Regions from separate parts of the Homo sapiens genome. Here all the other regions are linked to region 4. Evidence: promoter capture Hi-C in 16 types of primary human blood cells and fetal thymus (Javierre and others, 2016). All regions are on one chromosome and are shown on one strand. The core of a region is centred on a gene start or on the middle of the fragment in contact, and the rest is flanking DNA. Distances in the headings are between cores, read along the strand shown.

Region 1 (2,775 bases), core at 264-2,763, 390 kb after region 4:
TCTGCTTGAGCCCTGAATCTCATTTTTACTGGATAGAGAAAGACAGGCCTGGGAAGGTACCCTTGGTTGCCACAGAGGTGAGGGTTCTGAGCACACTGTCCTTGCTGAAGGCTATTCCTGTGCTGCCAGAGCCCACATTTCTCCTCCTCATGTCCCTGTGTTCCTGTTGAAGCAGGCAGCCATGTCAATCATTTCCTTGGAGACAGGGAAGCTGAGGCACAGTGGTTTCCCAAAGACTCTCAGCTAGACAGCAGATGGGGAAGGTTTTCCTGACTCAGTGGATGTTGAATTTCCTGAGTGGGTCCTGTCCCCTTCCTTCTCTGTGCTTCTCCCCTCAGTGCTCACCGAGGGCCTCTACACCAGTGAGCGCCCATCCAGGGCATCCCCGGGCTCTCAGAGAGGCCGTTGGCCATCAGCTCTTGTGGGGCTGGGCTGTGTCTGGGGGTGTGCATGCCATACAGATCCCAGATCCCAGAGGGCCCAGTTTTGTCTCCCCTCTGCCCGCCCATCCTGCCCCTACCTTGACATAATCATAGAAGCAGCCTTCAGAAGGCTCCAGGTCAAACTGCTGGAAGACGAGCTTCACCCTGTATCCCGTGGGGACTGTGATCACAGTGGTTGTTTCAAAGTTGTTGGGGTAAGGCTTGGGGAACAGAGGGGAAGTCACCTCCCCAAATAACTTCTGAGGGATGGGAATGGAGCCTCCTGCCCTGCAGAACAGGGCCGGCACCAGGAGGTACAAGAGCCACCTGCCAAAACAAAAGAGAGTATCTGGAGCTGGAGGGGTTCAGCACTCTTGCCATGTGGGCAGTGGCTGTGGCAGGGGATGAGACGGCCATACCACTGGGCATTCTCCTCTCTGCCCACCCTGAACCTCACAGACATGTTCTCAGCAGGGGTGCGTGGGTGGGGAGGATGGCCTGTGCAGCTGCTGCATCGGGTCACTCTCCAGGGCAGTGTCCAGTCCAGAGGCCACCACACTCCCCTCACACTCCCTTTCCAGCCTCCTCCCCTGCCCGGACGCGTCCCTCCCCTCCCCTTCCAGGAATAGGACTGGCTTGGGACCAGTTAATGGAGGGTGAGGGTTTCCACCCGTGGGTCTCTGAAAGGGCTCCCACAGGTTCAGCAAGAGCGTCTGGGAGAAACCATCTGTGGAGTGGGGGACACAGGCACAGAGTGTCCCGTCCTGGGCAAGGGGTCCCCTCCTCTCGCTGCTCCCTGCCAAGAGCCCAGAGGGAAGAAAGGACCATGGCATGAGCATCTATGTATGAAGTCTCCTCTGATCCCTAGGAGGAGGGATGGGGCGTGTGTTGTGTGTGTCCACGCGTGTGCACAGTGGAACTGATGAGGTGTGTGAAGAGAGAAGGGTGTTCCTGTCTCCCTGAATTGCCTCCCATGCCCTGGCTTCTCCCCTGGCTTCTCCCTCCCACCTGGTTGCCCATCACCCTTACTCACATTTCTCAAGGCCCGTGTTGAATCCTGGGCTCTCCCGACAGCGTCTTCGTGCACTGTGTGCAGAGGGAGCCCGCGTCATGCACAGCAGGGAGGGGAGGGTTTTCTGTGGAGTGGAGGGGGGACCATTCCCGGAGGAATGTTGGAGGGAATGAACTATTTGCATAAACAAAAGATCTGAGTTTCCACTTTAATTTAGTTTTGGTTTTGAAATCCCTGTTTGTGGTGCCACCTGCTGGTCGGTGAGGGAAAGGGCTAAGGAGACGGGAGTCTGGCTTTTTAGGGCCCGGGGAGCCTTGGGTTGGAGGCCCAGATGTCTCAGTCTCTAAATCTGATCAGCTTCTCCCTTCTTCCAAGACTTTCCTGGGGGCTGCTGCTGTGTTTACAAGGTTCCTACCAAAGCAGTGGGAGACCACAGGTGGTGGTGAATTCTCTTTTCTGGGCTGTCCTTTCCCATTGACCCTGTTCTTCCTGCCCTCATTCAGCCCACAGCCCTGGTCCAAGAATGGCCCGGGTTTCAATGCCCAGGACGTAATGATAGGAACACTGGGGCAGAGGAGGGTGTGTGGGAGCGGGCAGAGGAGAGAGGAGCTTGGTTGCCTTGGGGCCCTGGCCTGCTTTAGCCATGAATGACACTTGGACATAGAATAGGGTTGGCCATGTCAGGGCAACCCTAAATCAGCCCTGGGTTTGAGACCCTCTGGGGCGGCTGCGGAGGGGGTAAAATGTCCCCATCTCCTTAGCATCTGCTCAACACAACTGCCAGGGCTGAAGCTAAGGATGCGGGTGTGGAGCAAGAGGGACTCGGTTTTTCTGAGATGAAGCCAGGCCCCTGGGAGGGAGGAGGGACCCTAGTCTCTCCTGTCCATCAGGCCATAGTGTCCTGCTTTAAAACTTTTGCTCTTGGCCACGTGTGGTGGCTCATGCCTGTGATGCCAGCACTTTTCGAGGCCAGGGTGGGAAGATCTCTTGAGCCCAGGAGTTCGAAACCAGCCTGGGCAACATAGTGAGATCTCGTCTCTAAAAGTTAAAATAAATTAAAAAACAATTTCATTGTTTTTGGAAGGCTTTCTTCATCAACTCTCCATGGCACCAAATATCTGATGGCACTTCATCCCACGGAGGGGCTTGGGCTGCAGAGCAGGACTCTGCGTTCTTAAGCCTTTGTAGGCTGTTCTGCTTGTTTCCCTTATTAGATGAATCCCTCCAACCTCCACCCTTCTGCCCCCACCCCCGTTCATCCATTTATGGGCTACCTGTTTAATGTGCAAGACACTTTCCCAGGCAATAGATTGCAAGAATTCACAGAGCTGATGCAGTTCC
Region 2 (2,771 bases), core at 192-2,691, 370 kb after region 4:
GTGAGCCACTGCACTCAGCCTGAAGATAAAATTATCTTTTCTCCTGACCCTTATTTTCTTCTTATTTTATGTGACATTTAATGCCTCTTTTATTTGTATCTCCCACTTCCCAATTTTACCTCTTCCCTTTAGTTCTTTCCCTCTTCTGATTTCATCATTTTGTTCAGTTTGTTGCAGGAGATCGGCAATTTGGTCCTTACTGTGGTCATGGATTCCCTGGGCCTCTAAATATTGAAACCAAGAGTAATGCTCTTGATATCATCTTCCAAACTGATCTAACAGGGCAAAAAAAGGGCTGGAAACTTCGCTATCATGGAGATCGTGAGTAACTTAGAAGTGCCTCTTTGGTTGGTGATACCAAAGTCCCCAAACAATGTGGGATCAAAGCAGGTAGATGATCCAGGCACACTGGAAGCACCTGTGATCTCAGCTACCGAGGGAGGCTGAGGCAGGAGGATCCCTTGAGCCCAGGAAGTAGGAGTTTGAGTCCACTCTGGGCAACAGAGCAAAACCTTGTCTCTAAAACAAAACAAAAACAAAGCAACAATAATTTAAAAAACAGATAGATTGTTGTTCTGATAGAATCCTGAGATACTTCACTTCTTCAGGAAAATCTAAACCAGTCAACGGTTGCTAGAAATGCCTCAACCTCTAGTAATCCTTTAACTAGACCTGAGACTGCAGACAGCTTGCGGGTGGTTAGTTGGTAATGCCATATGATTTTAGACATCTGCTGTATTGGAATGTTAAGCATCAGGATTGAGGACAACTGGACGATTTTAGAAAGTGTGAGAATGATGTAAATAGAATGAGAGTCTTCAACTATTTAGTAATTTTTTCCTCCTGTCCCAACTTCTGTTCTTTCAAGCAATGCCCTGCCCTAAGGAAGACACTCCCAATTCTGTTTGGGAGCCTGCGAAGGCAAAATATGTCTTTAGAGATGTGGTGCAGATAACCTGTCTGGATGGGTTTGAAGTTGTGGAGGTAAAGTACCACCTTGGCTTCTCCCCAGTCCCTGGCCCCAGATCAGGATGAGCGGACTGAAATTGTCCAGTTGTTTACCCAATGTATGTGTGTGATCAAGGTATAACACCTTTCCCATAAACACAACAGCTTAAGATCTGTAGTTCTCCCTTGTGAGTCATGGAGCTGCCTGGCCAGCTTGGCATTCTCTCTGCCTTCAGTCTTCTTGAGGAAGGGGAGTTGACACGTTGGGGCAAAGCTTTCTGTCAGCCTCATCTCCTGGGTGCTTTAGGTCTGCTAAGATGTTCCCAAGCTTCTTGTGGTGAGGACTCCTCATTGATCCAAGGCCAGAGATCAATTCCAGTTTTGATTTTGGTTTCCCATATCTCTCTTCAGAAATAAGTGGTGATGTTTATTATTCTCCAGGGACGTGTTGGTGCAACATCTTTCTATTCGACTTGTCAAAGCAATGGAAAGTGGAGTAATTCCAAACTGAAATGTCAACGTATGTGTCTCTTCAAAGTGGAAGTCTTTCTTTTTCTCTCAGAGAGAATGGAAAGATCAGCACATCAAAATTCAAATGCATGGTTTCCTCTTAGGCATGTGAGGGAGTGGGTTGGGTTTTTGAAGGGAAGCCAGTCATGGAAGCTTTTCTAGTCCCAGCCCCGCATCTGGTCCCAGGCCAACTAGATCGGCATGTTTCTTTCCAAGAAAGGGGCTATGGGATAGGTCGAGTTAGTAGCCCCACGTGGGTGCATTTGTGGCTTCCACTGGGCCTTCACCAACCACTGAGAACCAGGCTCTTCACTACGGCTTTCATGGGGCCATCTGAATTGGCATCTCAGCGGGTGAGAGAGCTGAGAGATGCCAGTTGGGGAGGATGGCCACAGAGAGGCTGGTGTGGGGAGGTTCATCCCAGGTGTGCCTGTGGATATGGGGTGGGGAAGCAGTGAGGATGAACCTGGCCCCATGACTCTTCCTTGGAGGAAGTGGCTGTCCTGACCATCGCTCTCCTTCCTTCGTCTGGTAGCTGTGGACTGTGGCATTCCTGAATCCATTGAGAATGGTAAAGTTGAAGACCCAGAGAGCACTTTGTTTGGTTCTGTCATCCGCTACACTTGTGAGGAGCCATATTACTACATGGAAAATGGAGGAGGTGGTAGGTTTCTTCTACTGGAGAAGAGAGAGAGAGAGTGAGAAGGTGTTGGAGGGTGGATAGCATAATCTGTGCCAGAGACAGAGTTTGGAGACAAATGAAGGCGATAGGACAGACATTGTTCATCCCCTTGGCTTCGTCCAAAGATACAGTTTTCATCTGGAGCAGGGCAAGTTCAGGGGAGCATCAGCCTCAGGGAATCATAGAGGTCACCAACTGAGTTCACAGCTGCAGCAGGAATTCCCCTACAACATCCATTTCATGGGATTACCCACCTTTTGACCAGTTATTTCATGTAAAACCCACAGGAGCAATGCCTTCAGCTTTAAGCCACCAAACTACACTGACTGGCTTTCTTGATGTAGAGGCTTTGGTCATGCTAGGTGCAGGGCTGAATGAGACCCTAATACGTTCTCTGCATTGCTCTGTATTTATTTCGCCACTTTCCCGATGCCTTCTTTCCTTCTGCTTTGGAGATGTTCCCTTTGTCTCCCTGGCAGGCTAGAGGCCTGAGGGATTGTTTGGAGGAAGATATTTTTTTTCTGGCTGATTTAATCTGATTTACTACTTGAATCCTAGACGAGCTGAGGTTCTGAAGGAACGGGGCAGGGTGTTGGGGTCGGAGGGGGGAATGGAAGAAGGAAGATGTGGT
Region 3 (3,098 bases), core at 585-3,084, 300 kb after region 4:
TAGTCTCGATCTCCTGACCTCGTGATCTGCCCGCCTCAGCCTCCCAAAGTGCTGGGATTATAGGTGTGAGCCACTGCGCCCGGCCGAAAATTGAGTATTCTTTTAATGGATTTTAAGATATAAAATCTCAGGCTCAGAAATTTGAGCCACCTAGGGGTGAGAAATTTTGGCCTTTGCCCGCTTCGAACTGACTTAACTAAATTAAATCTATAGAAAGTAAAAAATAAAGGTCTGTGAATGTACCCAGTACTCTCAGGAAGAAGCATATTTGCCATGAAGCTAAAAAAGCTTCAGTTTCACTCCCCTTCCAAGGCTCTGGGGGGTGGGGTGGGGGCGGGAGCTAGCAACGTGCTCACATGGTCATATATTTTTGTAAAACTTATAGAAGATATTTTTGTATTCTTTTTCTTAAAGAAGATATCCAAGATTGTATAAGCTTCAGATCCCAGAAATCCTAGATTTAAAAAAAATAATCAACCACCACCCCAACAAAATTAGGCACATGCCTGAAAATTCTGCTGCTACTGCCAGAATTCTGCGGGTAGGGGCTTCATCCAAGGTGTTCCTAATAATAGGCAGAGTCCCCAGATTAGTTCCGGTGAGGCTTTTGGGAGGGGTTATTTGGCGCGGTGTTGGTGTTGGTAGGATCCTGGCTGTGAGGCTGAGGCAGGCCTGAGGAGGGCTGGGGCTGACAGGTAGGCAGAGTTGGCTGGGATGTGAGGTGCAAGGGGTGGTACTTCGGAAACAAACTTTGAAGAGGAGAAGGGGCAGCAAGACTGTGAGTCTGGACTTTGTGATACACTGTCACCCCTAGTTTAGTGTGCCTGGTTAGGGAGAATCAAGCAGCATGGAACCCCTCTTCCTTTTTCACTAACATTTTTCTGTATAGTGGTTGAAACCCAGTGTTAAGAGACTGCATGACATTGGAAAAGAAGGGGAGGAGAAAAAGAGTCCATATGAGGCAAGAACAGAACGCAGCCAGAATTAGGGCAGGCAGGGAAAGGAAGGGAGTGAGATGTGGGAGTCGGGGGGGAGTTGAGGTAACCTGCATTTTATATGCTAGAGCTACGTATTTTAGATGCAGGGGCAACTGTTTCGGTCCAGGAGTGGAAAGGACTGTAGAAGCAATCTAGCACAGCTGTTTCTCACTTGGGAAAACTGAAGCCCTCAGAGGCAGAGGGAGGAATGGGGAGCGGCCAGGCCAGGACAGGACTCAGCCCCCAGTTCCTCTTCTCAGGCGTCCGATTCCTTCTGATCTTTCTCTCCTGCCCTCTCTGTTACTGCTTCCTCCTGTTCTTACCCTTATATACACTTGAAGTTTTATCCCCATTTTTTATGCTTATGGGATTGTACACTTTCTGGTTCTCTCTCAAGTCCAACCAGTATGTGGTAACCTGTCTCTTCCCACTTCATTTGTGGCACTGGTTTGCAGTGGACAAAAGGTCCGTGCTCCTCTTCTAACCTAATCTGGACTGGGTTGCCCAAAGGTTGCCCTGCCACACTGCCAAGTGCCTAATTAGCTGTTTTCTCTCCAACCCCTCCAAACACTTATCATGAGTAATTTCTCTTGTCTTTAGAGTTGCCAAATCTAATCTCTGTAAATACAAATGTGGTGAGACTTCTTCTCAGGAGTTTCAGCAAATGAAACAATAAACTCTTTTTTACCCTGCTAAGATTCTAAAGATAACCATGAGAATACTCCTAATTATCCTTATAAATTTGAATAAGTGTGGTTGTTGGGTTCTCTCACCCTTTTTATATCCCTTCAAAAGAAAATACAAGTTTGAATTCTATAAAATATTTTTCTGGCCGGGCGCAGTGGCTAACGCCTGTAATCCCAGCACTTTGGGAGGCTGAGGTGGGTGGATCACAAGGTCAGGAGTTCAAGACCAGCCTGGCCAACATGGTGAAACCCCATCTCTACTAAAAATACAAAAGTTAGCTGGGCGTGGTGGCGGGCGCCTGTAATCCCAGCTGCTCAGGAGGCTGAGGCAGGAGAATCACTTGAAACTGGAAGGCAGAGGTTGCAGTGAGCTGAGATGGCACCACTGCACTCCAGCCTGGGCGAAAGAGTGAAACTCCATCTCAAAAAAAGAAAAAAAAAATTTCTAATATTTATGGAATGCACTCTCTTATATACCAACATACATTTGTAGCATTTTTTTTCCTTCAGAGTATGAAGAAATCAGTAAAAATGGGCAAAGCACAAATGACAACTAATGGATTTTGTTAAGTCCTATGTGTCACTTTAAGAACTTGAAACTGGCTCAAATAAAAACCATTTTATTTGGTTATTAAAATGAGACTTAAAAACTTAAAACAAGATTTTAAGTGATCTTAAAATGTCTTATCCTACAGAAGATTTTAGAGGCAATGTAGTACAAAAAGCTCTTCCTTTTCTCTGAAGAATTTATTGAGTGCTTTGGGAGTAGGGTGAGTTTTTTTTTTTTTTTTAACATATGTTTGATTCAATTAAGCAAAAATATTGTTTCATGTCTCACTGAACTGAATACATTCTACTATCCATTGGTTTTCAATGTTCACTTATTTATTTTATTTTAGTAGAGACTGGGTCTCACTGTGTTGTCCAGGTTGGGTTTTCAAATTTTATGTCTAACACAGTGTGCTAAATACAACTGAGTTTCATAAGCCATTTTTCCCACTTCTGTACATGGCACTGGTCTCAACCTGTATCATGCATAAGAATTACCTAGGATGCGGCCGGGCGCGGTGGCTCACGCCTGTAATCCCAGCACTTTGGGAGGCCGAGGCGGGTGGATCATGAGGTCAGGAGATCGAGACCATCCTGGCTAACAAGGTGAAACCCCGTCTCTATTAAAAATACAAAAAATTAGCCGGGCGCGGTGGCGGGCGCCTGTAGTCCCAGCTACTTGGGAGGCTGAGGCAGGAGAATGGCGTGAACCCGGGAAGCGGAGCTTGCAGTGAGCCGAGATTGCACCACTGCAGTCCGCAGTCCGGCCTGGGCGACAGAGCGAGACTCCGTCTCAAAAAAAAAAAAAAAAAAAAAAGAATTACCTAGGATGCTTATTAAAAATGCAGATTCCCAATTCCTGAAGGGAGGTCATGCCTTGGCATCT
Region 4 (3,100 bases), core at 75-2,574:
GAGTGGGTACAGAAGACTCGAACTGTGGAGGATGCCGAAGGGAGGAAAGGATGAGAGAAAAGGTCAGGGAGGGGAAACGGAGAGGATGAAGGGGTCACAGGTGCAGGGGAAGAAGGGGCAGGAGGAGAAGGAGAGAGCGGTCCAGGCAGGACAGCCAGAGGAGTGGAGAGTAAGGGGATGGGAGAAAAGGGGGGAAAGCCCAGGATGGGGAGAAAGGAAGTGGGGAAGGAGAGAACATAAATGCTTAAGGAAAAATGACACGAGGAACGGGCTGGGAAGCAGAGGCGGGAGCAGCAAAGATGGAGGAGTTCGGAATTGCTCCCCCAAATGTAAAGGGATGTGGAGATACCGAAAGACATAGGGATGGGGGCATGGTGGGAAGAAGGGAGAGAGAGGGGAAAGGAAGAAAGCTAGAGGGAGGGAGCGAGGCGTGTAGAGCGAACCAGTGAAGCGGAGAAGGGCTCCCAGGGCGCATCTGTGGCCAGCTGACTCTAGGACTATCGCCCCTCCGCCTGTGCATCCCCACCCCCAGCCAGCGCCAACCCAGTCCCTGGGCCCCGCACAGCTTCAGCCGCCCCCTCCAGGAAGCCCGCAGTCCCCGGGCTGGCGCGCCACCCCCACCCCTCTCCCAGCTTCTCACCGACCTGTTGTGCGCAGGAGACGAGCTGGGGGTGGGGCAGGAGCCTCGGGGTGCGGGAGCCGGGCCCCAGCCCCAGCGTGGCCCCCATCCCACCCATCCCGCAGGCCCGCACTCCCCGCACAGGGCTGGAGAGCGGCGAGAGTGGGGGGAGACGAGGAAAAGGAGGTCGGCGAAGGGACCCCGAGGCAGGGAGTGCCGAGAGCGGACTGGGGACCCGAAGCAGGAGACTGCGCGGAGCCGCCCGCCGAGCCGAGGCGGGATGGAGGCAGCCGCGGGGACGGGGACGGCTGCGCCAGGGAGGGCGGGAGCGAGCCAGGACCGCGGAGGGATGGAGAGCCCTTCGGGGAAGGGGCGCTGGGAGGCTGGAGGCCTTGTCCCGGGCGAGGGACCGCGTCGGGAGGGGCAGGAGGCGCAGGGCGCGGAGCCGGGAAGGGCAGGGCCGGGCTCCCCGCGGGTGGGGGCGTGGGGGTCCCTCTCACTCACCTGCATGCTTGGCGCGGCGGCGCGACGACTGCGGGCGCTCGGGACTGAGCGGGGCTGGGGGGTCGCAGGAGCGGGCGGGGTGCGGGGCATGGTGGGGAGGTTTGGCCCGCGGCAGGGCGCTGGAGCGGGTGGGGGGCGGGCGCCTGGGGCGCGGGGCGGCGGCGGTGGGAGATGCTCGCCTCGGCTCGGCTCGGCTCGGCTCGGCTGGGCTCGGCGCGGCGGCTGGGACCGCTCCGTCTCCGTCTCCGCCTCCCCCCCGCGCCGGAGGCCACGCACGGTTTAACCCTCCTGCTGCCGCGCTGCAGGAGTCAAGCCAGGCTATGTCCCAGGTGGAGGGCTGAAGAGGCTGGCAGGGTCCAGCGACCGTCCGCTTCCCTGGGTTCTGATGGCAGTCTCCCCACCTCCTTCACCCCAACTCCAGGGACACCCATGGTCGCCTCAGTCAGTTTCTGAGATTCTGAGTCACTCAATGCTCTGCATTCCCAACTTTGTTCTTTTGTATTGTGTTTTGTAGAGATGAGGTCTCGCTGTGTTGCCCAGCCCGGTCTCGAACGCCTGGGCTCAAGCGATCCTTCCCGCTCAGCTTCCCGGAGTGCTGGGATTACAGGCGTGAGTCACCACTGCCTGTCCCCCAACTTGGTTTTGCCCGCTGTAGAAAGTGCCTGAGGTCAAGGCTGGGGGCAAGGGGTGGAGGAAAGGACTGGGGAGGAAGGACCTTGCACCATCTTTGGATTATCCCCACAGCTTGATCCCCTATTTCACTCTGGCCCTGCTACCATGCATTAAGTGGATCACGTCGAAATTCCTGGGCTTTTCCAGCACTGGAATACCTAGACTCCGTGCTGTGACTTACAAGACCCTATATAACCTGGCTCTTAGGTGGCTCTCTGATTGCCTTTCCTAAAGATTTCTATGCTTCAGCCACATGGGACCTGGTGGATTTCCTGGTTGGAGACAGGTTTAACCTGCCTCAGGGCCTTTGCACTTGCTGTTCCCTCAGTAATACATTTCCCTGGCTTTTCACAATGACTTACTGTTTTCATTCCAGTCTCACTTAGATCCAACGCCTTCTGGGAGGCCTTCCCTAATGTCTCTATCAAAAGTAGCCTCTCCTGCCCCTTCTCCCACCACCTGGATCCCATCCCTCTCTACCACACTACGCTGTTTTTCCTCAGGGCACTTCCAGGACACCACACTCTCCTCATTTCCCTCCAACCTCACTGACTGTTCTTAGTCTTCCTCGGGTGACCTCTAAATGTTGGAGCCTCCTAGGGCTTAGTCCTTGGCCATTCTCTCTTTCCACATTCTCTGTCCAGTGATCTCATCCGGTCCCAGGGCTTAAATACTATGTAAATGTCAGTGAGTCCTAAATTTATATCCAGAGCGCCAGACTCATTTATCCGACAGCCTACTTGACATCTCCACTTGGATGTCTAATAGCCATGCAAAGCTAACTTGACTAAAATAGATGTCTTGAATTCCCCCACCCCCAATCCATTTTTCTCCCAGTGATCCCCATCCTGAGGCTTCACAACTACTAGTTGTTCAGGCTAAAAATCTAGGAAACATCCCTCCCTTCCCCTTTTTTTCACTGATTCTCTCCCTGTATCTAATTCACCAACAAGTCCTGTGGGCTCTGCGTCCAAAATATATCCCGAATTCATCTCCTTCTATCTTTATTGCTATAGTCTTGGTCTAAGCCATCATGTCTCATCCAGATTATCATAATAGCTTCCTCACTGGTCCCTGCTTCTGCCCTTGTCTTTACAAACTAGTTTTTCCTATATTGATAATATTTTAAAAATCAAAAGCATGTCATGCTCTTCTCTGCTTAAAATATTCGAGTGGTTTTTCATTACACTTGGAATAAATCTGAACTCCTTGTAAGGAGAAGCCCACCAGCCTGTACCCACCTCATACACAGTGCTCCTGCTGGATCAGACTACTTGCTGTTCTGTAACATCAGAAGTCATTCTC

Evidence for each region. The method cuts DNA at HindIII sites, captures the fragments that hold promoters and counts their contacts. A CHiCAGO score of 5 or more calls a contact.
Region 1: a contact is called between the fragment with the promoter of C1R here and the fragment with the promoter of PIANP in region 4, in 2 of 17 cell types (activated CD4 T cells and non-activated CD4 T cells). The highest score is 6.0, in activated CD4 T cells.
Region 2: a contact is called between a fragment that was not itself captured here and the fragment with the promoter of PIANP in region 4, in 1 of 17 cell types (naive CD8 T cells). The highest score is 5.4, in naive CD8 T cells.
Region 3: a fragment that was not itself captured here is called in contact with the fragment with the promoter of PIANP in region 4 in 1 of 17 cell types (non-activated CD4 T cells); the score reaches 5.2 in non-activated CD4 T cells.

The regions. Positions count from the first base shown.
Region 1 is chr12:7,090,932-7,093,706 of GRCh38, forward strand. It overlaps C1R (complement C1r), which reads right to left and starts at 1,514. Exons shown (of 11, transcript NM_001733.7): 1 at 1,456-1,514; 2 at 521-749. The coding sequence starts at 1,457. RefSeq lists an enhancer at 1,562-1,856. The HindIII fragment of the contact is 12,054 bases long and covers 1-2,775 here.
Region 2 is chr12:7,065,650-7,068,420 of GRCh38, forward strand. C1S (complement C1s) reads left to right here. Exons shown (of 12, transcript NM_001734.5): 7 at 168-321; 8 at 869-984; 9 at 1,390-1,468; 10 at 1,994-2,122. Among named protein-coding and RNA genes, the nearest start is that of C1S, 6.3 kb to the left of the region's middle. The HindIII fragment of the contact is 335 bases long and covers 1,275-1,609 here.
Region 3 is chr12:7,000,922-7,004,019 of GRCh38, forward strand. All of the region lies in intron 1 of LPCAT3 (lysophosphatidylcholine acyltransferase 3), which reads right to left. Among named protein-coding and RNA genes, the nearest start is that of LPCAT3, 16 kb to the right of the region's middle. The HindIII fragment of the contact is 2,800 bases long and covers 435-3,098 here.
Region 4 is chr12:6,699,491-6,702,590 of GRCh38, forward strand. It overlaps PIANP (PILR alpha associated neural protein), which reads right to left and starts at 1,325. Exons shown (of 5, transcript NM_001244014.2): 1 at 1,124-1,325. RefSeq lists an enhancer at 105-606. The HindIII fragment of the contact is 12,862 bases long and covers 1-3,100 here.